2 separate regions of the Homo sapiens genome follow, and region 1 is linked to region 2. The links are contacts of gene promoters, found by promoter capture Hi-C in human tissues and cell types (Jung and others, 2019). All regions are on one chromosome and are shown on one strand. The core of a region is centred on a gene start or on the middle of the fragment in contact, and the rest is flanking DNA. Distances in the headings are between cores, read along the strand shown. Region 1 overlaps CKM (creatine kinase, M-type). Region 2 holds the start of PPP1R37 (protein phosphatase 1 regulatory subunit 37).

Evidence for each region. Contacts are between HindIII fragments. The study calls those that stand out against the background at their distance.
Region 1: a contact is called between a fragment that was not itself captured here and the fragment with the promoter of PPP1R37 in region 2, in 1 of the 25 tissues and cell types used here (adrenal gland).

What each region holds. Positions count from the first base shown.
Region 1 is chr19:45,307,969-45,310,734 of GRCh38, forward strand. CKM (creatine kinase, M-type) reads right to left here. Exons shown (of 8, transcript NM_001824.5): 6 at 441-564. Among named protein-coding and RNA genes, the nearest start is that of CKM, 14 kb to the right of the region's middle. RefSeq lists a silencer at 562-719. The HindIII fragment of the contact is 3,883 bases long and covers 1-2,766 here.
Region 2 is chr19:45,091,614-45,094,720 of GRCh38, forward strand. It overlaps PPP1R37 (protein phosphatase 1 regulatory subunit 37), which reads left to right and starts at 1,566. Exons shown (of 13, transcript NM_019121.2): 1 at 1,566-1,914. The coding sequence starts at 1,713. RefSeq lists enhancers at 1-168, 1,169-1,218 and silencers at 1-121, 1,639-1,848. The HindIII fragment of the contact is 15,616 bases long and covers 1-3,107 here.

The DNA.
Region 1 (2,766 bases), core at 27-2,526, 220 kb after region 2:
TTCTCCTGCCTCAGCCTCCCGAGTAGCTGGGACTACAGGCGCGCGCCACTACGCCTGGATAATTTATTTATTTATTAATTTTTTAGTATAGAGACGGGGTTTCACCATGTTGGCCAGGCTGGTCTTGAACTCCTGACCCTCCTCAGCCTCCCAAAGTGCTGGGATTACAGGCGTGAGCCACCGCTCCCGGCCTGAAGGCGGATCCTTACGGGCGGGGCTTGGGCATAGGGTGGAGCTGGGTCCAGGGGCGGGGCCCTGAAAAGCGGGTGGGGCTAGTTTTGGGGGGCGGGGTTTGGCATGGGGTGGAGCCAGGTCCGGGGGGCAGGGCCCTGGAAAATGGGTGGGGCAGGGCTTAGTATAGGGGAAGGGGCGGGGCCTCGGAAAGCAGGTGGGGCGTTCAAGGTGGAGTCAGAAGTCAGCAGCTAAGGGCAGACACCCACCTTCTGCAGCCCTACGCAGAAGCGGCGGAAAACCTCCTTCATGTTGCCCCCCTTCTCCATGGAGATGACCCGGAGGTGATCCTCCTCGTTCACCCACACCAGGAAGCTCTTGTTGTCATTGTGCCTAGAGTAAGGTGCCGCAGCAAGAGGCCAAGGTGTCAGCCCCGTGGGAACCCCATTCCCAGCCCTCCCCCAAAACATCTGCCCACCGATGGGGGAAGAGGGCCTGAGGGGTGGGAGGTGGGTGGCATCTGCCTCCTCAAAACGCAGAAGCTTAAACCTGTAGACTCTAATGTCACAGGATCTGCAAAACGCTGAATCCTGGGATCAAGGACTTTTAGGGACTTAAGTCTTTGAACAGTATTATTATAGATCCTTGGGATCTCAGGATGTTTGACAAACAGAAGCTTGGGATCAGAACTGATAACACTTGGTAATCCTACATCTGGTTTCAGGACCAGAAAATCTTCCCATCGTAGTGTGTTAGCTCCCAATCCTAGCATCTCAGAAGCAGGATCTTAGAACATAAAATATTAAGGCTGGGTGCGGTGGCTCACGCCTGTAATCCCAGCACTTTGGGAGGCCGAGGCGGGCGGATCACAAGGTCAGGAGATCGACACCATCCTGGCTAACACGTCGAAACCCTGTCTCTACTAAAAAATACAAAAAAAAATCTGGGCATGGTGGCGGGCATCTGTAGTCCCAGCTACTCAGGAGGCTGAGGCAAGAGAATGGCGAGAACCCGGGAGGTGGAGCTTGCAGTGAGTCGAGATCGCGCCACTGCACTCCAGCCTGGGCAACAGAGCGAGACTCCATCTCAAAAAAAAAAAAAAAAAAGAACATAAAATATTAAGATCCGGAAATGGCCGGGTGTGGTGGCTCATGCCTGTAATCCCAGCACTTTGGGAGGCCAAGGCCGGAGGATTGCTTGAGCCCAGGAGTTCAAGACTACCCTGGGCAACATGGCAAGACCCACATATCTACAAAATTTAAAAAATTAGCAGGCATGGTGGGACACATGCCTGTAGTCCAAGCCACTGGGGAGGCTGAGGCGGGAGGATCACTTGACCTTGGAAGGTCCAGGCTGCAGCGAGCTATGATCCCACCACTGCACTCCAGCCTGGGCAACAGAGCAAGACCCTGTCTCAAAAAAAAAAAAAAAAAAACCTGAGGGCAGGCATGGTGGCTCACGCTTGTAATCCCAGCACTTTGGGAGGCTGAGGTGGGCGGATCACTTAAGGTGAAGAGTTCGAGACCAGCCTGAGCAACATGGCAGAACGCTGTCTCTACCAAAAATACGAAAACTAGCTGGGCACAGTGGCACATGCCTGTCGTCCTAGCTACTAAGGAGGCGGAGGGTGAGAGGATCGTTTGAACCCGGGAGATGGAGGTTTCAGTGAGTCGAGATCAACCCACTGCACTCCAGCCTGGGCCTCAGAGTGAGAGTCCATCTCAAAATAAATAAATAAATAAATGAGTGGAATCTTAAAACCTAAAAATATTTAAAATCTTGAAATCTTAGAATCATCCCATCTGTATATCTTAGCACCCAGGCTCCCTTCATCGATTGAAACCTAGGTTCTCTAAATCTTTGACTATCTGAATCAGGGATTCAAAGAGTCAAAACAAGTCTAGCAATAATACTTTATAATAAAGATAAGACGAATAACCAAGATGTACTGAACACTTAGTGTATACCAGGCACTGCTTTTTTTTTTTTTTTTTTTTTTGAGACAGAGTCTTGGTCTGTCGCCCAGGCTGGAGTGCAGTGATGCGATCTTGGCTCACTTCAAGCTCCGCCTCCCGGGTTCACGCCATTCTCCTGCCTCAGCCTCACGAGTAAGTAGGACTACAGGCGCCTGCCACCAAGCCCAGCTAATTTTTTGTATTTTTAGTAGAGACGGGGTTTCACCATGTTAGCCAGGATGGTCTCGATCTCCTGACCTCGTGATCCGCCCGCCTTGGCCTCCCAAAGTGCTGGGATTACAGGCGTGAGCCACCGCGCCTGGCCCAGGCACTGCTTTTAATACTTTACATAAATTAACTCATTTAATCCTCACAAGAACACCAGAAACTACAAATTATTGTGATCCCTATCCTATAGCTAGGAAACTGGGGTAGAGAAAAATAAAATAAGTTGCCCAAGGTCACAAAGCTAGTAAAGTTAGTAAATGGTAGAGCTGGGATTTGAACCTAGGGAGTACGGTTCAAGTCTGAGTTCTTATTTTTGAGACAGGTAGCTGGAGTGCAGTACCTCGGTCATGATTCACAGTAACCTCAATCCTCTGGGCCCAGCTGATCCTCAGCCTCTCGAGTAGCTGGGACC
Region 2 (3,107 bases), core at 316-2,815:
TTAGCTCTCGAGTTGCCTTGGCGACGACGCAGCTCGCTCCGCCCCAGTTCCCTTTTATGGTTTCAGCCCCGCCTCCTCTAGTTAGCCGGGTGCGCTTCGGCAAGCGTGGCGAAAGTGCGGCGGCGAATGTCAAGCGTTGGGTCTGAGCCTAGGGGTGTGGCTTGAGCTCACGCTGGTTCTTTCTTGCCTCGGTGATCCACCAGCCTTGTCACCCAGGATTTAGGTTGGCAGATTCGTCTCTCGCCTTTGGAATTTCTACCTTCTCCTAGGTTTTGTTTTTTAAAATCAGGCCTATGATACCGCTCATGGGCTCATATTTATTTTAGCATTGTAATTTAAGTTGTATTTTATGCAACTCTACCCCGATACAGAGAGCTGTTGATGTAACTGCAGCGAGCAAATGGAGGACTAGAGACTAGCGAAGGGGCCGAGACTTCGTCTCCAGAGTATCCCTGTCAGCATCCATCAACTGCACTCATATATTGAATGCAGCTCCTATCCGCCTTTCTTTTCGACTTCTTCATGCCGTTACCACTCTTCATCAGTTAGTCTAGCCTCAATGTTTTCATTTATTTCCTTTGTTTTTTTTGGGGGGGGGGGAACGGAGTCTTGCTCTGTCGCCCAGGCTGGAGTGCAGTGGCACGATCTCGGCTCACTAAAAGCTCCGCCTCCCGGGTTCACACCATTCTCGTGCCTCAGGCTCCCGAGTAGCTGGGACTACAGGCGCCCGCCACCACGCCCGGCTAATTTTTTGTATTTTTAGTAGAGACGGGGTTTCACCGTGTTAGCCAGGATGGTCTCGATCTCCTAACCTCGTGATCCGCCCGTGTCGGCCTTCCAAAGTGCTGGGATTACAGGCGTGAGCCACCGCGCCCGGCCCATTTCTTTCCTTTCGTTGAGACAGGGTCTGGCTCTGTCTACCAGGTCGGAGTGCAGGGGCGCGATCATAGCTCAGTGCAGCCTCAACCTACCGGGCTCAAGCGATCTTCCCACCTCCCAAGTAGCTGGAACTACAGGCTCCTGTAACCAGACCCTGCTAATTTTTAAATTTTTTGTAAAGACGGGGCCTTGCTATGTTGCCCAGGCTGGTCTCGAACTCCTGGACTCAAGCGATCTTCCCGCCTCAGCCTTCCAAAGTGCTGGGATTATAGGCGTGTGCCGCCGCGCCCCGCCAGGTGTTTTCAGTTCTATGCACTCCATTCCCTGGGCTCTTGACGAATGTGCGGGAGCTGAATATTCGTTATTTGGACTCCGGCAGGAAGGCGTGGGCTCAGCTTCGCGCTTGCGCGCTGCTCTTGGAGACGGCGTCTACTTCGCCCCGCCCCTCATAGTCTGCAGTTCCGGCTCTGCAGATTCGCTGCTCACGTTTCTTTTTTCCGTGGCCCTTCCTGCCCTTTGTTTCTCTCTTCATGTCACCCGCGGGACAACTCTACGTGCAAGTCGCTGAAATCGATTTTCTGCTTCTTATAGTAAGCGGCGGGCTCGCCAGCCTCGAGCGAAAGTGTGACTGCGAACGGGCAGGCGCGCGCGGGGCTCGGCGGAGGCGCGCTTGGGCTCCCGGCGGCGACGACTACGACCACTAGGAGAGCGGACGGAGGCGGCGCCTGAAGCGGCGGCGGAGCCCATGCCCCGGGACGGCGGGCGGACCCGGAGAGACAAATCCGGGGCCCGGGGCATGTCCCCGGGGCCCCCGTGAGGAGGCGGCGGCGGCTATGGAGATCGCGCCGCAGGAGGCGCCGCCCGTGCCGGGCGCGGACGGCGACATTGAAGAGGCCCCAGCTGAGGCCGGGTCTCCCAGCCCCGCGTCGCCCCCCGCCGATGGGCGCCTCAAGGCTGCAGCCAAGCGCGTCACATTCCCGTCCGACGAGGATATCGTGTCTGGAGCAGTGGAGCCCAAAGACCCCTGGAGACATGGTAGCTACCGCGGGTGAAGCGGGGGCGGGCTCGAGAGGGACCCGGGAGTCGGGAGGGATCGGTGCAGGGCCCGGCTCGAGGTGGCGTTCAATAGATTGCACCTAATGGTGAATAAGGGGACAGTCGTCAGTTTAGAACCGTAGTCTGTTAGAAAGGGGGTGGCTATGGAGTTGGGAAGGTGAAAAGTATCTGGTTTCTGCCGCACCCCACCCACCCGAGACAAAGATGGTGATCGTTTTAGGGTTTAAAACGATGAGCAATTAAAGAAAGTTTGGTGTTTTGTCAGATGTAGAGTGTGGCAGCCTTTGCGTTCGTAGTTCCACCAGAGAAGGAGAGAAGGAGCAGTTGAGAGGAGGAGCGGGTCAACACTGGGCCTGAAAGGGCAGTTGAAAGAGTTTGATGGGTCTATGGGGGTAAAAAGAGGTTAAGTTGCTGGTCTGCAAGCCTTGGGGCAAGGAGTGGTCGTGTTGGCCACTTTCTTGGCTGGAAAGAGGGAGACTATAAACTTGGACTGTGGCTATAGAGGACTTGGTAAAAAGGAGTCAAGATAAGGTCCCAGAAGAGGAGCAGAGGTGGTGGTCAATTTGTGGTTGGGTGAGGGAGAAAGAGGCAGTGTGGTTTTTATGTTTTCTTTTTTATTGAGACAAGGTCTCACTACATTGCCCAGGCTGGTCTCGGACTTCTGGGTTCAAGCTGTCCTCCCTCCTTGGCCTCCCAGAGTGTTGGGATTACAGGTGTGAGCCACCGCCGCCTGCTGCAATGTGGTATTAAGAAGAAAAGCCAACGCCTACCGCCGCCTCCTCCTCCAAAAAAAAGAGAAGCAGAAGGAAGGCTGTCAGTCATTCAGGAGCAGAGGATGTTTGGGACATGGCTACGGAAGGGTCCTCTTGTTCCTTCCTGAGAAAGAATTGGGGGATGGCCGGGTGCATTGGCTCAGGCGTGTAATCCCAGCACTTTGGGAGGCCAAGGTGGGTGGATCACCTGAGGTCAGGAGTTTAAAACCAGCCTGGCCAACATGGGGAAACCCCGTCTCTACTAAAAATACAGAAATTGGCCGGGCATAGTGGTGCACACCTGTAATCCCATCTACTCAAGAGGCTGAGGCAGGGAGAATCGTTTGAACCCGGGAGGTGGAGGTTGCAGTGAGCTAAGATCACGACATTGTACTCCAGCCTGGGTGACAAGAGCAAAAC